Regions from separate parts of the Homo sapiens genome. Here all the other regions are linked to region 1. Evidence: promoter capture Hi-C in 16 types of primary human blood cells and fetal thymus (Javierre and others, 2016). All regions are on one chromosome and are shown on one strand. The core of a region is centred on a gene start or on the middle of the fragment in contact, and the rest is flanking DNA. Distances in the headings are between cores, read along the strand shown. Region 1 holds the start of ING4 (inhibitor of growth family member 4). Region 2 has its middle 2.9 kb from the start of C1S. Region 3 overlaps LPCAT3 (lysophosphatidylcholine acyltransferase 3). Region 4 overlaps TNFRSF1A (TNF receptor superfamily member 1A). Region 5 holds the start of LOC107984500 (a long non-coding RNA gene). Region 6 overlaps EMG1 (EMG1 N1-specific pseudouridine methyltransferase). Region 7 holds the start of C12orf57 (chromosome 12 open reading frame 57).

Region 1 (2,762 bases), core at 101-2,600:
ACGAAAAGTGTGAGGGGTGGCAGCTATCTCTAAAATACTATCTTACTAACACCACTATTAGGTTATGGCCTTTGTGTTGGCAGTGTGTTGACAGCCTAGTGTGTTGGCAGCCTCTCATACCCTTGACTGCTTCCCATTCTGATGAAAACCATAGAAATCACTCTACCATAGCTGACTAGAGTGATGGCTAGCAACTAACTAGCCAACTAGCCCAGTAGTGATACTGCTGCATCCCTCAATCCCTTCAGAATTATGATGCTAACATCACATATAAACAAAAGGAAAACAAAAACACGAGATTTCCCCCTTAGAGAGTAGCAAGAGGGGCCAGGCACAGTGGTTCGCACCTGTAATCCCAGCACTTTGAGAGGCTGAGGTGGGCAGATCACCTGAGGTCGGAAGTTCGAGACCAGCCTCACCGACATGGAGAAACCCCATCTCTACTAAAAATACAAAATTAGTCTGGCGTGATGGTGCATACCTGTAATCCCAGCTACACGGGAGGCTGAGACAGAAGAATCACTTGAACCCGGGAGGTGGAGGTTGCGGTGAGCCATGATCACGCCATTGCACTCCAGCCTGGGCAATAAGAGTGAAAATTCTGTCTCAAAAAAAAAAAAAAAAAAGCAAGAGGGCAAGGCAGGAAGTAATATTTTATATGTGAAAGTGTATTCTAGTGTAACGTACAGGAGCTCTGACAAAAGATGTGCAGAATTATAGCTTTATTATGAGTCATTCTTTGTATTTATAAGTAGAAAGGTGATCATCTTTCTCAAGTTAAAAAAATAATGCTGGGGGAGATGGTGTTTGTGTGAGTGAATAGAAATTCAGACGGTTTAAATGTCTCAAGGCCTGATACTCTTCCCCAACTTCCTTAAGAAACTAACTGGCTTGAAAAAAGTCATTCTGCAAAAGAGGGAAAAAAAGTTGGATCTTCCAGTTGCTGAGAAGGTATGTTTACGCAATATGAGCCTAAAGTGAACAGTTACCCCTGCACGGATTACCATACATTCCCGTTTTGGAGGGAAAAAAGTTTGCTAGAGAATGCAAAATGGCGACCTCCAGTGACGTCATACCTGTCTCGGTCGCGTCCTGGGGTGTCTGTAAGGGCGGAAGCGGGCTACAGCCGCCTCACTGTGGGCGGTCGTGGCTACCATGCAAAAGGAAAAGTTTCAGTGTCGGGCGGATGTGTACCGGCGGTAATATAGTAAGGGCGGAAGTTCTCCTTTAAGGGCGGAAGTTCTCCTTTTAAGGGCGGAAGTTCTCCTTTTAAGGGCGGAAAGGCTTTAGCCGCAAAATGGCTTCGGCCCCTGTCGCGTTACAGTCACTTCCGGGGCGGATCGGAAGTTGCTTTGTTTTGCTTCGAGATGGCTGCGGGGATGTATTTGGAACATTATCTGGACAGTAAGAGCAGGCTGGAGGTGGGGGTCGGGGCTGCAGAGTGGTGCGGGGATCAGGGATGAGAGGATCTGTAGCCCTTAAGTTCCAGTGACGAGAAGGTCACAATTATGAAGCGGTTCTGTGGCAGGAAATATTGGAGGGTGCGGAGAAAGAGGGGGCGGGGCAGCAGGATCGAGGCCCCGCTGATGGGTGTAGACGAGGGAGGGGTGCGGTGTGGGGGTTAGAGACGTGTCTTGAAGGGCTAGTGTGCATGGCCAGGAAGATAGTTGCTGCCCCCATTCTCCAGGGTCTCCAGCCTCGGTAGATTTTTTTCCCCATAGTCGTTCAGAATCGTTATCACACACTGCCATTTGGAGAAGCGGTAAAGACCTCTCCTCCACTCCATTCTTCCTCAAAAGTGGCTTCTCATGGGGTTGAGAGTGGTGGTGATGAGTGACCACTGTCAGATGATGAACTAGAACGCTTCTCTTCATGGAGTAAAGATCTAATTCCCATCAAATGAAAATCTGGTGTTTATGCGATTTATGTAAACCACCCCTGCAGAAAGCCTATTGCTCTGTGCGCTTACATTTGTTTTAGGGCCCGGAGTCATTTATTCAACAAATATTTATTGAGGTCCTGCTATGGGTCAGACATAATGGCAGGCACTAGGGATAGAAAAATGAGTAAGACAAGGCTCCTGCCCTCAAGAAGCTCACGATCTAGTAGGAAACAGATTCTGCAAATAATTATAAAACACTGTGACAAGTGAGATAATGGAAATACATTAAAAAGGACACTTGGTAGGCAACCCTGGAGAAAAGGGGGGTAATTACCTGGGGATGTAGGAAAAGCTTTACAGCGGAGGTGATGTTTGAATAGGGTCTTGAAGGTTATTTGCCAGTGAGGAGAGAAAAAAGGAATTCCAGGTTGGGGAAAGCATCCGCAAAGGTACTGTGATGGGTTTGTGGCAAGGTCAAGGGTGTTTGATATTTATGACTCAGAGGTCAGCGTATTTGATATTTATGAATCTAAGGTAAGAAATTGAGAAAGGAGACTGGAGAAAGAGGCTGAGGCTAGATTGGACAAGGTCTTTTAAGCCAAACGAAGAAGTTTGCATTTTAAAGTAGAGTATGATTTTTATAGAGGAAAATGACTAATATATGGTAAATTGGAGCATGATATTGTTGATAACAGAGATCAATTAGTGATAACATTCCAGGACAGAGATAAGAACCTGATTTTAGGGAGTTACAGAAGTATTTAGGAGTTAAATATGAAAGGACTGACTGAATGACTGAGTGGTTGAGAGAGAAGGAAGAATCTAAGGTGGCTTCTTCCTGCTTAGAAAGTGAGGTAGACAGGCTGGGCACAGTAGCTCA
Region 2 (2,762 bases), core at 89-2,588, 390 kb before region 1:
TTAGAGGAGTTCCCCATGATATCAGTCTTGGGAACAGAGCCGACCTCCCAAGAAAGAAGACACAGGCACAAGAAGTGTGTCACCCCCACCTCCAGCAGCTCTGGAGCAGGCTAATTTGTAATCACCCGAAGGGTTCTTCCTGCCTGCTGCGTAGACAAAACCAATTCACTGAGACCATGGTATTGCAGTAGAGAAAGAGTTTAACAACACAGAGCTAGCCAAGTGAAAGGATGGGAGTTTATTTCTCAAATCAGTCCCCACAAGAACTCAGAGGCTAGGGTTCTTAAGGAGAATTTGGTGGGCGGTAAGAGCAGAGAATGGGTGCTACTGATTCGTTGGGGATAAAATCATAGGAGTGTAGAAAACAGACCTTGTGCACTAAGTCCACCTCTGGGTGGGGGTCACAGGACCAGTTGAGTCATGAATCATTTCAGAATGCAAAAGTCTGAAAAATATCTCAGAAGACCAATATTTGGTTTTACAATAGTGATGTTATCTATAGGAGCAATTGGGGAAGTCACAGATCTTGTGACCTCTGGCCGCATGACTCCTGAGCAGCAAAGGATTATAGAAAGGCAAGCTAGGGGTCAATGGCTGGTCATCGGTTAGCTACACCCACATCTTAGCAAAATTCAAGCCCCTCCCATAATCCTAATCTTGTGGCCTTTCATTAGTTTTACAAAGGCAGGTCCCTGAGCTAGGAGGGGGTTCATTTTAGGGAGGGACTAATATCATCTTTGCTTCAGAGTTAAACTGTAAACTAAATTCCTCCCATGGTTAGCTTGGCCTATGCCCAGGAATGAGTGAGGACAGCCAGCCTGTGAGGGTAGAGGCAAGATGGAGTCACCCATGCTAGACTTCCCTCACTGTCATCATCTTTGCAAAGGCAGTTTCACATGCACACACGTTCCATTCATCAGAGGCCCAGGCTTTCAATCCAGAGCCAGTAATGCCAGGAAGCAGGGACCCTAGAGCCTGTAGGGACAGTGGTGGCCACAGCAAGATCACAGAGGAGGTAGAGTTCTCAGCAGCACCCAGCATCCAGCCCCAGTGGGTAAGCATTGCAAGCCGAAGCATCCAGGCCATGGTCAAAGAAGTGGCAGCAGCGGCAGCCAGGTTCTGACCATTGTCCCTGCTGGGAAGCTTCCACAATGGCTCTGTAGCTCCCCTGGAATTTCCATGAGCAATCCAGGGTCCCTTTAATAAATTCATCTTCTGCTAAACTCAGCCAGAGTTGGTTTCTACTGCTTGCAACTAAAAATAATGGCTGATACAACACGCTCAGTGAGTATCTGAGGATTGGTTGATTGAATGTGCCAAAGTGAATTCAAACCATTCATTACCTTTCATTTTAGCCGTGTGACCTTGAAAAAGTTACTATGCCTCTCTGAGCTCCAGCTTTATCAGGTGTAAAATGGGAATAATAGCACCTACTTCAGACACAGCTATCACTGTCAGGGCCCATTGTGGCCAAGATTAAACAAAATAACGTATGCTAAGCATTCAGCATATACCTGGTACTCAGTAAGCTTTTAACAAATAACAAACCATATTAACTTCTCCAAACACCAAACACGGCAGCAGTAGCAGCAGCTTCCTCCCCATCAAGAGCATGCTTCAGTTAATACCAAGGAAAAGAGGACGCCTTATCAATGTGTCCAGGGTTCCTTCTCCTTTTCCTTGGAGCTCAACACTGCCCGATCTTGCCAGAAAAGTTAGACTCTCCTATCCTCACCTGTGTTTTATGTTCATTTCTGCAATTTTGCCACGAAATTGAAATACATTGCCAGGAGCAGTGGCTCACACCTGTAATCCCAGCAACTCAGAAGGCTGAGGCGGGAGGATCGCTTGAGGCTGGGAGTTCAAGACCAGCCTAGGCAACATAGGGAGACCTCATCTCTACAAAAAAGTTTAAAAATTAGCCATCCTGTGGTCCCAGCTACTCAGGAGGCTGAGAGGCAGGAGGATTGCTTGAGCCCAGGAGTTCAAGCCTGCAGTGAGCTATGACCACAGCATTGCACTTCAGCCTGGGTGCTCCGTTTCCCACCTCAAATTTCATTGGTCAGGCATAGTGGCTCATGCCAAAGTGCTGTAATCCCAGCACTTTGGTAGACCAAAAAGAGAGGATCACTTGATGCCAGGAGTTCAAGACCAGCCTGGGGAACATAGCAAGATTTCATCTCTACAAAAAGTCAAAAAATTAGTCAGGCATAGTGGCACGCACTTGTAGTCCCAGCTACTCAGGAGGCCAAGGGAGGAGGATAACTTGAGCCCAGGATTTTGAGGCTGCAATGAGCTATGATCACACCACTGCACTCCAGCCTGGGCAACAGAGTGAGACCCTGTCTCAAAAATAAATAAAATAAAATTTCATGCAGCCATGTTATCTAAGTAGCTATCGGAGATCCACAATGAGATTAAATGATGGTATTAAGAAGCTCCAACAAGGGATTGCCAACAATAAAGGTTTTGAACAACAAATAACCCTCCCATTTTCAAATTTGAACAACAAATAACCCTCCCATTAATCAAACTCCAAAATTAAAGTTCAAATCCCATTGCAAACTGAAACTATGACATTAAAGTCAAAAGTAATTGAAGCCCAAAGTGTCTATGTTAAAGTCACAAAACTATCAGTTCCAATTTGTGTTCTGTTTAATCCCAGCTAGTGGGTTTCCAATCCCTGGGCAGAGCTGTGGTCCCTTCCGAAGCTGCGGCCTGGGCTGGAACAGGTTAGTTCCTCCAAGGCTTCAAAGACTGAG
Region 3 (2,762 bases), core at 166-2,665, 350 kb before region 1:
CCTGCCTCGGCCTCCCAAAGTGCTGGAATTACAGGCGTGAAATTACAGGCATGAGCCACCGCGCCCAGCCGAGGCTGCAATTTTTAATATTCAATACTTCAAAGAAAAAGTAAGCTTATGTGGACTGCTGCACTGGAGTATTTTGAGCAGTCAGAAGACTGTAAAAGGAGTGTGTTTATGTTTGTGTGGTGTATGCTTGCAAGGAGTTTGATGGAAGGATGCTGAAGAGGAATTTTGCCATGAGCCCTGGTGCTGGCAAATACTACCAGAAAACATCTCCCCTTCAACAGCTTGGATCTCATCACTCCTTAATGTAACTAATACCATGAATTGCTCATATAAATTCAGTAACATGCACCTACTACAGGTAAAGCAGTATTCTTAACCCTGCAAGGGCAGGAGCAGTGGGTGTAGTATGAGTCAGGAGCCCTGCACTCAAAGGTATTATGGTCTGTTAGGGTATAGGAAATGGGCCTGAGATAAGTATACTAATAACCCCAATAAATTTTAAGCACCATAAGAGAGGTACAGAGCTTTGTGAGATTTAAAGATGGGACATTTCATTTAAAGATGAGTAAGGTTTCAGCATGCTGAGATGGTAAGACTTAAGGAATAGCATGAGCAGAGGCACTGAGGTGTGAATGTGGCAACACAGCCAAGGAACAGTCAGTAGTCTAGTGTGACTAAAACAGGACTTTAAAGAAGTGATGGAAAATCAGGCTGGAACTGTAGGTTAAAGAGCCTTTAAAGCCAAGGTAAAGAGTTAGTACTCACGTAGGTGATAGGGAACATTGGAGATTTTTGAGTGGGGAATAATATGGCTGGAGCTGTATTTAAAAAGATAATACAGCCTGGGGTGATTTGAAGTCAGCATAGACAAGTAGTAGGGAAACTAAGGAGAAAGAAGTGATCTAGAGAGGAAGTTATAATGACTTGGAGGCAGGGTGGCTGTGCTGAGAGGAGAAAGTGGGCATCTCCTGTGAGATGGTCTAGGAATACCGGAACCTTTTGAAAGGTAGATTCTGTAGACACAGTCATCTACACAGCTGCTCATGCCTGAAACCCAAGAATCAGCTTTGTTGCCTTTCTTCACTCACTCCCCACATCCCAGTCACCCAATCCTATCAATACAACCTCTGGATTGTGTCTCAGATCCATCTACTATTCTCCATCACCACAGCCACTAACCATCTGTCACCAGCACCACCCAAGTAGCCTCCTGACTAGTCTCTAATTCTGTTCTTGCCCCCTCAGTCCACTCTCCAAAAGCAGCCAGAGTGATCCGATCCTGTGCCTCTCCTGCTCAGAACCCTTCAGGGGCTTCCATACCTGGCTGGTAAGCCCCTGCCTGCTGCCCCAGCCTCGTCCCAAGCAAGCTGACAACCTTTTAGCCACATGGCCTTTGTTCAGTTCCTCAGGAAAGGCATGAAGGCTTCCCTACCTCAGAGCCTTTGCACACGCTTACCTGCTGCCTGGAGTGCCCTTCAGTCACCTGACAAACTCCTTTTCATCTTCCTCTGAGTTCTTTCCTGACTCTCATGTTCAATTATGTCCCCTGTTACACTTTCTCATACTGACCGGAATTTCCTTCCAAGTATATATTACACTTTGTAATTATATATTTGTAGATGAGGACAGAAACCATGGAAGTTTTGTTTACCACAGTGTACCCAGAGTTTAACACATTACTTGGCTTGTAGAAAAGGCTCGATAAATACTTGAATAGGTGAATGTATGAATGAATGACTTGGCAACTTATTAGCTGGAGGATAAAGTCGTAATTTTAAAAAGACTCCATCCTCCTGCCTGAGTAGCTGGAAAGATAAGGGTATCTTTGACCAATGCCAGAGATCAAGTGGAGGATCAGATACTCTTAAGTGCCAGGAAATGATCTGGTTTGGGGTTCACTTTAGGTTCCAAGGGCACTTCCAGGTATCTTGGGAGTTGTGAAGCCTGGTCTTGAGCTCAGGAAAGAAGCTGGGCTAAAGACAGAGTTTTAGGAGACAGTATTGGTATCATAACTGACTCAGGGAGGGAATGAAATGCCATGGAAAAGGTTATACAGAGAAGAGGATCTTATTCACGTTGATTGGGTATGTTAATGTTGCTACCCCTTGATAATAGTAATAGCTGGCATTTATTAAGGATTTTCTGTGTACCAGACATTGTCCTAAATGGTCAACAGGCAGTTCCCCACCTAAACCTGCCAGTTACCCGTGAGGTAATTATAGTGCTGTTAAGATCTCCTGGTACAGATAGGAAAGTCAGCCCTACAAAGATTGAGTAAGTCACACTGAGTTCTGCCTGACTCCAGAGTTCCTGCTCTTTACCGCTGAGATTGGGAGGAGCATGTGGGGCTGGAAAAGATAAATGCCCTTGGTGTCCTTTTCTCTTTTCACTCTCAGTGGTTAAACCAAGATGCAATCAGTATATGAGCCACCTCTCAGTGTCCAAAGCTAGAGCTGGCCAAATGGAGCAGATGGCCACCCTGCTTACTGTGAGTGTTCCCTAGTCTTGGCCATGATGGTGGCTTGGCTGTTAGACTGATCAAAAATTGCAGCTGGGGGTAACAATTCATCCCTCAGAGGTTCAGAATTAGCATCACTAAAGTTAGCGACCTTTAAAATCAAAGGAGGTCCTGCAGTTTAGTTCCCTTTGGACCAAAGTCAGGTCTGGCCCTTCAGAAAAAAATCCATTATTCAGTGCAGAAAGCTTTCTTCAGGTAGCACTGGAATCACAATATAAAGAGACCAAAGGTAAGC
Region 4 (2,762 bases), core at 89-2,588, 330 kb after region 1:
TTCTTGCACAGTGGACCGGGACACCGTGTGTGGCTGCAGGAAGAACCAGTACCGGCATTATTGGAGTGAAAACCTTTTCCAGTGCTTCAATTGCAGCCTCTGCCTCAATGGGACCGTGCACCTCTCCTGTGAGCGCAGCTCTCCTGAGGCCAAGCCCTCTCCCCACCCCAGGGGTTGGCCCCTTCCCCATGCGGTGGCACTTCCTTTCCTTCCCCCTCCTGTATTCTGTGGGTCTGACAACCAACTCCTCTCTGGCCGCCCCCACCCTGTCCCTCGTCACTTCCTCTGTCCTGTGGGGTGGGGGTGCAGGCGCTTCTCCTTTAGCTGTGCCGCACTTCTCCCTACAGGCCAGGAGAAACAGAACACCGTGTGCACCTGCCATGCAGGTTTCTTTCTAAGAGAAAACGAGTGTGTCTCCTGTAGTAAGTGAGTATCTCTGAGAGCTGCTGGGCACTGGATGGTGGCATGGGTTGGGACGGGTGACTGGTGGGAACCATTAGCTGGGCAACAGATGCCAGGATGCCCCAGAGTGCTCAGGGTCCTACTGGCTGAGTAGGAGACACTTCGTTAAGACACCAGGCAGTCCTTCCCCTTGCTCTTCAAATCTGAAGAAGTCTTTGAGGATGGAAGATCATGCCCCAAGGGCTGGCAGCCCTTCCAACTCAGATATGTAGATTCTTGGATCTACGATAGCTCATTGGTTCTAGGACATACACTCTTATAGCTCTGAAATCAAACCTCCTATAACTGGTGACTCATCATGGTTGAATTGGCAGCTCTGTTTGCGTCTGGGTAGTAATGTAAAGAAAAGTGCCTTTTATTCTTGATGGCGTCTTAGGTTTGATGCAATATGGTATTTCCTCATTAGTCACTGTCCAGGCCTCCTTACTCCTGGCTCCACAGAGGCTGTTCTTGTCACTCACTTGCAAAGAATAAACTCTGAGGGCTCTCAGAGTTTGAACCCCAGCATAGCCACTTACTGGCTATGTGACGTTGGGCAAGTTTCTTAACATCTCTGAGCCTGACTTTTCTTTTGGTGTTTTTTTTTTTTTTTTTTTTTTGAGACAGGGTTTCACTCTGTCACCCAGGCTGGAGTGCAGTGGTGCAACCGTGGCTCAGCCTCCACCTCCAGGGCTCAAGCCATCCTCTTGCCTTAGCCTCCTGAGTAGCTGGGATTAGAGGCACACACCACTACACCCAGCTAATGTTTTACTTTTTGTAGAGACAGGGTCCTACTATATTGCCCAGGCTGGCCTCGGACTCCTGGGCTCAAGCGATCTTCCGCCTCAGCCTCCCAAAGTGCTAGGATTACGGGCATGAGCCACCACGCCTGGCCTGGGCCTTAGATTTCTTATATTTAAAGTAAGCATAATGACATTCATTTGGTGAATTTGTGAGAACCAAAAACAAAGAAACAAACAAAACCTACAACACGTCTGACACAAAACTATTTATTTTCCATTAATCTTCTTTTTTTTTTTTTTTTTTTTTTTTGACACAGAGTCCTGCTCTGTCGCCCAGGCTGGAATGCAGTGGCGCGATCTCGGCTCACTGCAACCTCTGCCTCCCAGATTCAAGCAATTCTCCTGCTTCAGCCTCCCAAGTAGCTGGGATTACAGGCACGTGCCACCATGCCTGGCTAATTTTTGTATTTTTAGTAGAGATGGGGTTTCACCATCTTGGTCAGGCTGGTCTCAAACTCCTGGTGATCCACCTGCCTCTGCCTCCCAAAGTGCTGGGATTACAGCCGTGAGCCACTGCACCCAGCCGGCTTCATCTCTTCTTGAAATCACTTTTATACCATTCTATGTGGTTCTCACCATGAGCTTGAGTGGTGGGCTAAAGTGCCTCTCCCTGCTTTCAGCTTCCTGCTGGGAACTCACTCTCTCAAGTTCCTTCCAGCACCACCCCATAGAGTTCCCATCACTCCACACTGTCCAGTGACAACTCCCAACATGGAAGATCTGCTAGTTCTACAGGGTGCTCTCTGGCTGCCCCAGTAACATGTGTTTTTAAATTTTTCACATGCATGTTTGACCCCGACTCCCCGAAGTCAGGTACTGTAACTAGCAGTGTCATTTAAGAAAAAGCCCTTTAACCTCTCTTTGCCAAAGGATTCTTATCAGCAAAACAGTGATGAAACAACAATCCCATAACAGCTAGCTGGCTACCTTCTCAAGCACTTATTAAATGAGGCATAATGATTTTGCTTAATCCTCAATCCTGAGAGGTGGGCGATCCCTGTGGTGATGAGGAAACCGAGGCTTGGGGGTTAATGGCTTGCCTAGATTCACACTGCTAGCCAAGGAATGAACTGGAATTTACACCCTGACCCTGACTGCTTTTCACATTTTCTACACAGCCTTTTCAAGATCCCTGCCAATTCTAAAATTAAATGATTCTATGATTAACTGTGTTTCATTCTTCTGCATCAGTTCCCAAAACAAATTATATCAAGAGACAGCAAAAATATTTGTAAAGAAAGGATGTCCAACAATCTGTGTGGTTGTTTTTCTGTGTTCCTCCAATGGTAGGGCCTCTGTTCACCAGTGCCGTCTCTTCTTTTAGCTGTAAGAAAAGCCTGGAGTGCACGAAGTTGTGCCTACCCCAGATTGAGAATGTTAAGGGCACTGAGGACTCAGGTGAGGAGAAGTGACCTGGTGCCCATGCTCACCTGCCCTCTCCCTCTTCTTGCCCCCACCCGTCCATCCATCCCACCCATCCATCTATCCCTGCGGCCCCCCTCTGCCCGCTCCTCTGAC
Region 5 (2,762 bases), core at 82-2,581, 310 kb after region 1:
TATTACAGGCGTGAGCCACCGCACCCAGCCTATTGTCTTTTTTTAAATAACACACATCTTAATGGGTGTGAAGTGGTATCTTATTGTGGCTTAATTCCCTTATTCTTATACAATTATTGTTCCCATTTTTCTTTTCTTTTTTTTTTTTTTTGAGACGGAGTCTCGCTCAGTCGCCCAGGCTAGAGTGTGCAATGGCGCGATCTCGGCTCACTGCAAGCTCCGCCTCCCGGGTTCACGCCATTCTCCTGCCTCAGCCTCCCGAGTAGCTGGGACTACAGGCGCCCGCCACCACGCCCGGCTAATTTTTTGTATTTTTAGTAGAGACGGGGTTTCACCGTGTTAGCCAGGATGGTCTCGATCTCTTGACCTCGTGATCCACCCGCCTCGGCCTCCCAAAGTGCTGGGATTACAGGCGTGAGCCACCACGCCCGGCCTGTTCCCATTTTTCTTTATGGCGTTTATGTTTTTGTCCATAGCATATATTTCCTTACACTGGTGTATCCTGTTTTGTTTTTCGCCTGACTTAGCTTATTTTCTTTCTTTATTAATTTATTTTTTAGGCCAGGTGCGGTCGCTCACACCTGTAATCCCAGCACTTTGGGAGGCCGAGGCGGGCAGATCACGAGGTCAGGAGATCGAGACCATCTTGGCTAACACAGAGAAACCCCATCTCTACTAAAAATACGAAAAATTAGCCGGGCGTGGTGGCGGGCGCCTGTAGTCCCAGCTACTCCGGAGGCTGATGCAGGAGAATGGTATGAACCCGGGAGGCGGAGCTTGCAGTGAGCCAAGATTGCGCCACTGCACTCTAGCGTGGGCAACAGAGCGAAACTCCGTCTAAAAAAAAAATTAATTTATTAAAAATTTTTTTTTTTAGAGACAAGGTCTCACTCTGTTGCCAGAGTTGGAGTACAAAGGCACACTCATAGCTCACTTGCAACCTTGAACTCCTGGCCTCAAACGACCCTCCCACCTCGGCCTCCCAAAGTGCTGAGCCACTGTCCCTGGCTTAGCTTAATTTCTTAAACGCTTCTTGGTACTGCCACTCATAAGGCATCATTATAATGCTAAATAATGCTCTTGTAAAGTGGGTACCCAGGGATCTTGGGAGACCTCTTGGGTGTGGGGTAGAGAAAGCTGAGGTGCCCTAGGAGAACAGGCATCTCTCTGTACCCACAGGGTACTGCTACTATAAGCTCCAGGTTGACTTCTCCTCAGACCACCTGGGCTGTTTCACCAAGTGCCGGAAGCCATGCAGGTTAGTGTCCCCTTCCCCGGGTACAGGTTGGGTAGAATACAGGTTACCGAGCCAAGCATTTGGGAGAGCTCTGCCCCAACACTGAGCACCTTTCTCCATCCCCAGCGTGACCAGCTACCAGCTCTCTGCTGGTTACTCACGATGGCCCTCGGTGACATCCCAGGTAGAGTGTGGGGAAGGGATGGGTGGGGGATGTGTGTGCCCATGTAATGCTGTGGCCTTCTCTGGGTATTATGTGTATGAGTGTGTTTGACACAACCCTATCCCTGTAAGCCTGAAGCATATGGGAGTGACCTTGATGACACCCCCATTCTTTCCTAGGAATGGGTCTTCCAGATGCTATCGCGACAGAACAATTACACCGTCAACAACAAGAGGTCAGTCCTGCCCTGGTCCCAGCCACAAGAAGGGAATCTTTGGGAGGGAAAATAGACCTAAGAAGAGGGATCGATATGGTTGATTAGAGGAAGGTCCAGGAAATTCATCCTCTACCATTTCTTCCCACCCTCTGCCCCACACCTAAGAAATGGAGTGGCCAAAGTCAACATCTTCTTCAAGGAGCTGAACTACAAAACCAATTCTGAGTCTCCCTCTGTCACGGTAGGTCGTGCCTGGATGGAGCCTGTGATGCTCTGGGGGTCTTACTTAGCAGGGCGGCTGTCGGGGAAAACCAAAAGGTTGTCTCTGTGGGCCAGAAGGCTCTGAGTCTCAAAGGCAGGGGACCAAAGAAGAGGGTCAAGGGAGAGGTTGGGAGGGTTGGAAGAAGGAGCTCGGCCGGGGCATAAGGTCTCTGGGGGTGGTGGGAGGGACAGGCATGCTAGATGCTGGGGTGAAGGCGCTTGACCCATGCCCCCATTTCAGCTGCCCCTAACTGTGGGCCAGTTATCAGTTTTCTCTGGGTGACACTGGCCAGGAGCAGAGACAAAGAGCCCAGGGGGCTGCTGAGAGGCTGAGAGGACTCGGGGGTCTTCAGGGATGAAGGGAGACAGCTTGGTGAGGAGGGAAGGGGGCTCCTCTGCCAGAGTCCATCCAGAACCCTCTGTCCCATCGTCAATGTACCTCTCCTCTCACAGATGGTCACCCTCCTGTCCAACCTGGGCAGCCAGTGGAGCCTGTGGTTCGGCTCCTCGGTGTTGTCTGTGGTGGAGATGGCTGAGCTCGTCTTTGACCTGCTGGTCATCATGTTCCTCATGCTGCTCCGAAGGTTCCGAAGCCGATACTGGTCTCCAGGCCGAGGGGGCAGGGGTGCTCAGGAGGTAGCCTCCACCCTGGCATCCTCCCCTCCTTCCCACTTCTGCCCCCACCCCATGTCTCTGTCCTTGTCCCAGCCAGGCCCTGCTCCCTCTCCAGCCTTGACAGCCCCTCCCCCTGCCTATGCCACCCTGGGCCCCCGCCCATCTCCAGGGGGCTCTGCAGGGGCCAGTTCCTCCACCTGTCCTCTGGGGGGGCCCTGAGAGGGAAGGAGAGGTTTCTCACACCAAGGCAGATGCTCCTCTGGTGGGAG
Region 6 (2,762 bases), core at 1-2,500, 310 kb before region 1:
ACAGTATTCATAGGATAAACAAATAGCAAATGTACAGCCTTGGCTTCCCCAAACTCCACAGTCTCAGTGCAGAAAGATCATCTTCCAGCAGTCAGCTCAGACCAGGGTCAAAGGATGTGACATCAACAGTTTCTGGTTTCAGAACAGGTTCTACTACTGTCAAATGACCCCCCATACTTCCTCAAAGGCTGTGGTAAGTTTTGCACAGGTGAGGGCAGCAGAAAGGGGGTAGTTACTGATGGACACCATCTTCTCTGTATACTCCACACTGACCTAAGAAAAGAACAGTTTTGTCAGCCAACTCTGTCACTCAGTAGCTGTTTCAGCCCTTCTTTAGGGCAGGAAAACTATGGCTGAGCTAGTATTTCAGCTGTGCTGTTGAATATCAAATCCCTACAAAGGATGAAGAAGGTCCTAACTGTGACTTCCAATTATGGCAGCAGCCCTCAAAGGATGTGCCCTGGGGCAGGGTGTGGAACTGTCATGTGTCTTCTAGCTCATTGTAAGCATTGTTAAAATGCCTACTGCTCTGGGAATTCTATACTAAGTTCAGCTCTACCAAGAATTTCAGGGTTGAGCCCAGACCTTACCTTGCCATGGGCAAAGGCCCCTACCACAAAAACAATAGGATCACTGCTGGGCACCAGCTCACGCACATCACTGACAACCGGGATGGAAAAAGAAGTGCCAACTTTCATACATCCAACTGGAAAGTGATCTGATACTGGATTCTTAATTACCTAAAGTAAAAAAGAGAGAAAAGTCAGCCCCAGAAACATTCCCAGAACCAGCCTTCAACTAACAGGTTTCAATACCTCACCTTCAAAAGCTTCTGGGGGCCATCAGCTGCTCGAACACTGAGCTTGTGTAAAAGTTGAACTAGAAGGGGGAAAAAAGAGTTCAGAGCTAGATGGAGACCACAGTCCTTCTGTCCAGTCATCGAACAAGGAAAACCCCATGGATAAGATGAGTTCCCTGTGTGCTTTATATCTAGACTGGACTCCTGAAATGTTAGGAACAAACAGTTGCCAAGCATATGGCTAGCTGTACAGTGATGGGTTCAGACTCCCTCTTTCACTCAGCCAGGAAGCTACTGCAAGAACAGGAGTGGAGTTTCCACAAACATAGAAAAATAATAACAGTCCTTGTCCTGGTATTAATCATGTTGTTCTCCCATTTTCTCGCTTAAAAATCCACATTTAGTTCTCCCTTTTCCTCTTCCTCCCTTCTTCCCTACTGACAAGTTCATTCTAACTTTGTTCTAAGGCTTCTTACCCATGAGGCCACAAAAGCGGTCAAAGGTTCTGGGAATTCGGGTCTGGGGATTCACTTCAATCAGAACATTCTTCTGTGTATGGATATAAACCTGTAGCAAGCCAGCTCGGTTCAGGGGACTATCCATCAGCATCAGCAAACTCTGAGCAAAGCAGAAACCGAGACATGGTTAAGGCTGAAGAGAGGCAGCACTCAGCTGCCAACCCTTCCATACAGAGGCTCAAAGGGTTGTGAGCACTGTCCCTGGAGTTACCTGGTGGGTGATATCTGGCCGCGCTTCCCCAGGGTCCCGTCCATTCTTCAACAATATAGACTTGTGCTTGTCACAGTTGAGTAGCTCATATGTCTTCCCTACCTGAAGAACAGGGAACATGACGAGAGAACAGCATAAGCTTCTGTTACCTAGCCCCGTGGTTCTTCAAGTGTGGTCCCCAAACTACCAGCAGCAGCTGCACCTGGAAACTTGTTAGGCAAATTCTCAGGCCCACCCTAGACCTACTAAACCAGGAACACTGGGGGTGGAGCCCAGCAAGCCCTTCGGGGGATTACTGTGCAGCCTTATTTGCACTCCCCAGTGAATGGTCTGAGAGGGAAACAGGAGGAAGGGCACAACCTGTGACTTCACATTATCTACTAATACACTGGATTTAATTAAAAAACCTGTGGCTGTTAGGCAAGGCCAATGAGACATCCTGGAACTAGGCAGGAGTTAGTAGTTAGCAAGGCTGAATGCTGTGTTTATTACAGGAGCAGTAAGTAGGTACTGTGCAAAATATCGAGTCACCACCCTCAGTTTGCGTACACCAAACATGCACTAAGTGAAGAGCTGCAAATCTGAACAAGAAATGTGAAGGCCGGGCGTGGTGGCTCACGCCTGTAATCCCAGCACTTTGGGAGGCCGAGGCGGGCAGATCACAAGGTCAGGAGATTGAGACCATCGTGGCTAACACGGTGAAACCCCATCTCTACTAAAAATATAAAAAATTAGCCGGGCATGGTGGCAGGCGCCTGTAGTCCCAGCTACTTGGGAGGCAGAGGCAGGAGAATGGCATGAACCCAGGAGGCGGAGCTTGCAGCGCCACTGCACTCCAGCCCGGGCAACAGAGCGAGACTCCATCTCAAAAAAAAGAAATGTGAAAACTAATGATGCAGGAGGCAGTTTAATCAAAGAAAACTCTCAGAAGTAAAAGGAAGAGGGGTTATTCCCAGTTTTAAGACGGGCATGGGGGCAGATGCAGTGGCTCACGGCTGTAATCCCAGCACTCTGGGAGGCCAAGGCAGGCAAATCACTTAAGGTCAGGAGTTCAAGACCAGCCTGGGCAACATGGCGAAACCCCATCTCTACTAAAAATACAAAAATTAGCTGGGCATGGTGGCACATGCCTGTAGTCCTAGCTACTTGGGAGGCTAAGGTGGGAGGATGGCTTGAGCCCAGGAGACAGAGATTGCAGTGAGCCAAGACTGTACCACTGCACTCCAGCAAGACC
Region 7 (2,762 bases), core at 197-2,696, 280 kb before region 1:
GTAGCTGGAACTCAGGAAGGCTATGAGGCAGCAGAGCTGAATCAGTCAACACCTTTGGGGAACACCAGGATCTCACCAAAAATTTAACCACCAACCCCCCCCAAACAAAAATTAGCTGAAACACCCTGGAGAGACTGCAGCCACTGCTGTCATGCAGACATGTCACTAAAAGGTGGCACAACAGCATTTAAGTCCAGCTCTGCTACTCGAGAGTCTGCACCATTAGAGTTTGCTTCCTCATCACAAAATGGAATAATAATGTGATTAACAGTACAGGTTGACCATCCTTAATTAGAAAATCCAAAATCTGAAATTATGAGTGCCAGTGTGAGGCCGAAAATGGAAAATTCCACACCTGACTTCATAGTGGGGGGTGGGGGAGACTGTAGTCAAAACGCAGTCAAAACTTTGTCTCATGCACAAAATTATTCAGACTATTATATAAAATTACCCTCAGGCTATGTGCATAAGGTGCGTGTATATGAAACAAAACAATTTCGTGTTCAGATTTAGGTCCCATCCCCCAAGATATCCATGTATATGTAAATATTCCGAAATCTGAAAAAACCCGAAACACTTCCGGTCCCAACCATTTCGGGTAAGGGATACAGAACCTCTACTGTACAAAACGCAACTCGGACGCACAAGCTCAGGGTAGACCCTGGGCTCTGAGTGCCAAGAATGTTAGTCAGATTGTGGCTGCCGCCGTGTGGCGAGAAAGGGGACAACCGCTCATGGGCCCACAGATCCGGCGCCCTCTCCCGACCCAACTCCCGCCTTCCCGCGTCTGACCCGCCTTCCCGCGTCTGACCCACCTTCCCCGTCGCAGCTGAAGCCATAGGCTTTGATAACCTCCTGCTGGATCTGCGTGGCCACGGGCAGCACGAATTGCAGCATCTTACCCATGTCGTTGCAGGCGTTATCCCGAGCCTCGTCCATGCGCACTGCATTCTCCGGGGCGGAGAACGCCTGGATCACCTCCGCGAGGACCACTGCGCGCCAGAAGCATCCCAGGGAGGCGTCCCGGGTAGGCGTCGGAGAACAGACAGCGGGCCCAGCGGAGAGCGCAAGGAATTAGTGGATTGAGGCTGTAGGTAACCCAATAAGATCCCAAGTCTTGGGGGCAAGCGCCCCACTTAGAAGGACGGTACCCGGCGTCCCCTACCCCATTTTCCCGGCGGACGTAGCCAGGTTTGTCGCCCCACATCCTCCGCCCGCATCCTCCCCAGACCAGCAGCCCATGCCTTGACTACCCCAGGCCAGCAGCCTATGCCTTGACTAGGACGATTCTCACCCTTTGCTTGCTCAGCGCTCAAGGCCGCCGGTTGGGTCGAGGCGGACGCCATAGGGCGTCTGAAGCTCTAGGTTCAGCGGAGGTAAATGGAAAACTCACGAATAAAGAGCCACGTCCTACAACCGTTCCCAACGCCCCTGGGAGCGGAAAGGAAACAGCATCCGGCGCAGCCGGAAGCGCCCAGGCGTGGCCCAAACCTTCATACCCCAAGCTTACAACTGCATCAAGACCACCAAAACTACCCATAATTTTTGCACAGTGAAAACAATCTATCATTGGCAACAAACATCATAAGAGGGGCTTTCCGGTAAAAAGCCAGAAAGCCTACTAGACAAATTCTAAAAGAGCTGTAACACTGCTGCGTATGTGTTTGGAGAGAAGATGGGATATAAAGGAACTCCACAATTGATGAGGGTGAGCTTAGGTGACTTTTTTCTTGTTCCTATTACTGTATAAACAACGACGCATGTGGTAACTTTCAGTAGGAAAAATAATATTCTAAGGAACTTACTTAAGTCATTCATTTCTAGAGTTCGCGAACATTTGTTCTCAGCCCATGCAAATGAGTTCGGTGCTGATTGGTTGAGAAAGCAGCCAGTCACAGCCCCTTCGTTGTTGTTAAGCCCGGAGACCTGGATTCGGCAGTAAAGGCCCAGAGCAAAAGCCGTTGTCGCAGTTTCCTAAAGGCCTTGTCTATTGATGAGCGATGGAGCCTAATGCCCGGCCCGATTTCCCTTCCCTTCCAGGCTTTTATCACCCACTCCCTTCTCAAACTGTAGGTGGTTAAGGATGCCAGGTACTAATCGCCTGGACCTATTAAAACTAGCCCACCCCACCCCCGCTTCATAACCGGCTTTGTTTTTTGTTTTTGAGACGGAGTCTTGCTCTGTCGCCAAGCTGGAGTGCAGCTGGGGGGGATCTTGGCTCACCATAACCTCCACCTCCCGGGTTCAAGCGATTCTCCTGCCTCAACCTCCCAAGTCGCTGGGACGACAGGCGCGCGCCACCATGCCCAGCTAATGTTTTGTTTTTAGTAGAGACAGGGTTTTGCCATGTTGGCCAAGCTGGTCTGGAACTCCTGACCTCGTGATCCGCCCGCCTCGGCCTCCCAAAGTCCTGGGATTACCAGCGTGAGCCGTCGCGCCTGGCCTCATAACCGTTTCTTAAAGTATTCCACGGAAAGGTTTCAGGACTCTGAAGCCCTTGTTCCGGAGGACTCTGGTGGCTCCTAGCAGTGAGACCCGTCTGAATAGATTCCTAGAACTGACCACGTCAGAGGTGGGCCTGTCCCAGGCCTCTAGTGTTTGGTTGGTTGGGGTGTCTTTTGTTTGTTTGTTTTGAGATAGGGCCTTGCTCTGTCACCCAGGCTAGAGTGCAGTGGTGCGATCATGACTCACTGTAGCCTCGACCCCCAAGTGATCCTCCCACCTCAGCCTCCTGAGTAGCTGGGACCACAAGTGCACCACAA

What was found. Contacts are between HindIII fragments. The CHiCAGO score rates a contact against its expected background, and 5 or more counts as called.
Region 2: a contact is called between a fragment that was not itself captured here and the fragment with the promoter of ING4 in region 1, in 1 of 17 cell types (activated CD4 T cells). The highest score is 5.3, in activated CD4 T cells.
Region 3: a fragment that was not itself captured here is called in contact with the fragment with the promoter of ING4 in region 1 in 3 of 17 cell types (non-activated CD4 T cells, activated CD4 T cells and naive CD4 T cells); the score reaches 7.9 in non-activated CD4 T cells.
Region 4: a contact is called between a fragment that was not itself captured here and the fragment with the promoter of ING4 in region 1, in 2 of 17 cell types (naive CD4 T cells and total CD8 T cells). The highest score is 5.1, in naive CD4 T cells.
Region 5: a fragment that was not itself captured here is called in contact with the fragment with the promoter of ING4 in region 1 in 2 of 17 cell types (naive CD8 T cells and non-activated CD4 T cells); the score reaches 6.1 in naive CD8 T cells.
Region 6: a fragment that was not itself captured here is called in contact with the fragment with the promoter of ING4 in region 1 in 8 of 17 cell types (non-activated CD4 T cells, naive CD4 T cells, activated CD4 T cells and 5 more); the score reaches 20.2 in non-activated CD4 T cells.
Region 7: the fragment with the promoter of C12orf57 here is called in contact with the fragment with the promoter of ING4 in region 1 in 2 of 17 cell types (non-activated CD4 T cells and naive CD4 T cells); the score reaches 7.5 in non-activated CD4 T cells.

Annotation. Positions count from the first base shown.
Region 1 is chr12:6,661,707-6,664,468 of GRCh38, reverse strand. It overlaps ING4 (inhibitor of growth family member 4), which reads left to right and starts at 1,350. Exons shown (of 8, transcript NM_016162.4): 1 at 1,350-1,404. The coding sequence starts at 1,368. RefSeq lists an enhancer at 1,320-1,379. The HindIII fragment of the contact is 5,227 bases long and covers 1-2,236 here.
Region 2 is chr12:7,056,450-7,059,211 of GRCh38, reverse strand. No RefSeq gene overlaps it. Among named protein-coding and RNA genes, the nearest start is that of C1S, 2.9 kb to the left of the region's middle. The HindIII fragment of the contact is 386 bases long and covers 1,146-1,531 here.
Region 3 is chr12:7,011,909-7,014,670 of GRCh38, reverse strand. The region is part of intron 1 of LPCAT3 (lysophosphatidylcholine acyltransferase 3); the gene reads left to right. Among named protein-coding and RNA genes, the nearest start is that of LPCAT3, 5.2 kb to the left of the region's middle. The HindIII fragment of the contact is 2,598 bases long and covers 117-2,714 here.
Region 4 is chr12:6,330,733-6,333,494 of GRCh38, reverse strand. It overlaps TNFRSF1A (TNF receptor superfamily member 1A), which reads left to right. Exons shown (of 10, transcript NM_001065.4): 4 at 1-128; 5 at 348-426; 6 at 2,569-2,642. Among named protein-coding and RNA genes, the nearest start is that of TNFRSF1A, 10 kb to the left of the region's middle. The HindIII fragment of the contact is 4,278 bases long and covers 1-2,762 here.
Region 5 is chr12:6,347,823-6,350,584 of GRCh38, reverse strand. SCNN1A (sodium channel epithelial 1 subunit alpha) reads left to right here. Exons shown (of 13, transcript NM_001038.6): 9 at 1,180-1,258; 10 at 1,364-1,421; 11 at 1,580-1,635; 12 at 1,783-1,858; 13 at 2,332-2,762. The coding sequence ends at 2,712. LOC107984500 (a long non-coding RNA gene) reads right to left here and starts at 2,404. Exons shown (of 4, transcript XR_007063191.1): 1 at 2,318-2,404. The HindIII fragment of the contact is 4,954 bases long and covers 1-2,762 here.
Region 6 is chr12:6,973,207-6,975,968 of GRCh38, reverse strand. EMG1 (EMG1 N1-specific pseudouridine methyltransferase) reads right to left here. Exons shown (of 6, transcript NM_006331.8): 2 at 1,529-1,630; 3 at 1,276-1,417; 4 at 821-879; 5 at 591-740; 6 at 1-273. The coding sequence ends at 160. Among named protein-coding and RNA genes, the nearest start is that of EMG1, 3.7 kb to the right of the region's middle. The HindIII fragment of the contact is 838 bases long and covers 832-1,669 here.
Region 7 is chr12:6,942,706-6,945,467 of GRCh38, reverse strand. It overlaps C12orf57 (chromosome 12 open reading frame 57), which reads right to left and starts at 1,446. Exons shown (of 3, transcript NM_138425.4): 1 at 1,295-1,446; 2 at 816-992. The coding sequence starts at 1,346. It overlaps RNU7-1 (RNA, U7 small nuclear 1), which reads right to left and starts at 1,652; the gene lies at 1,590-1,652. RefSeq lists enhancers at 1-229, 790-939, 479-1,058, 950-1,069, 1,370-1,559 and 1 more and a silencer at 897-1,156. The HindIII fragment of the contact is 10,579 bases long and covers 1-1,507 here.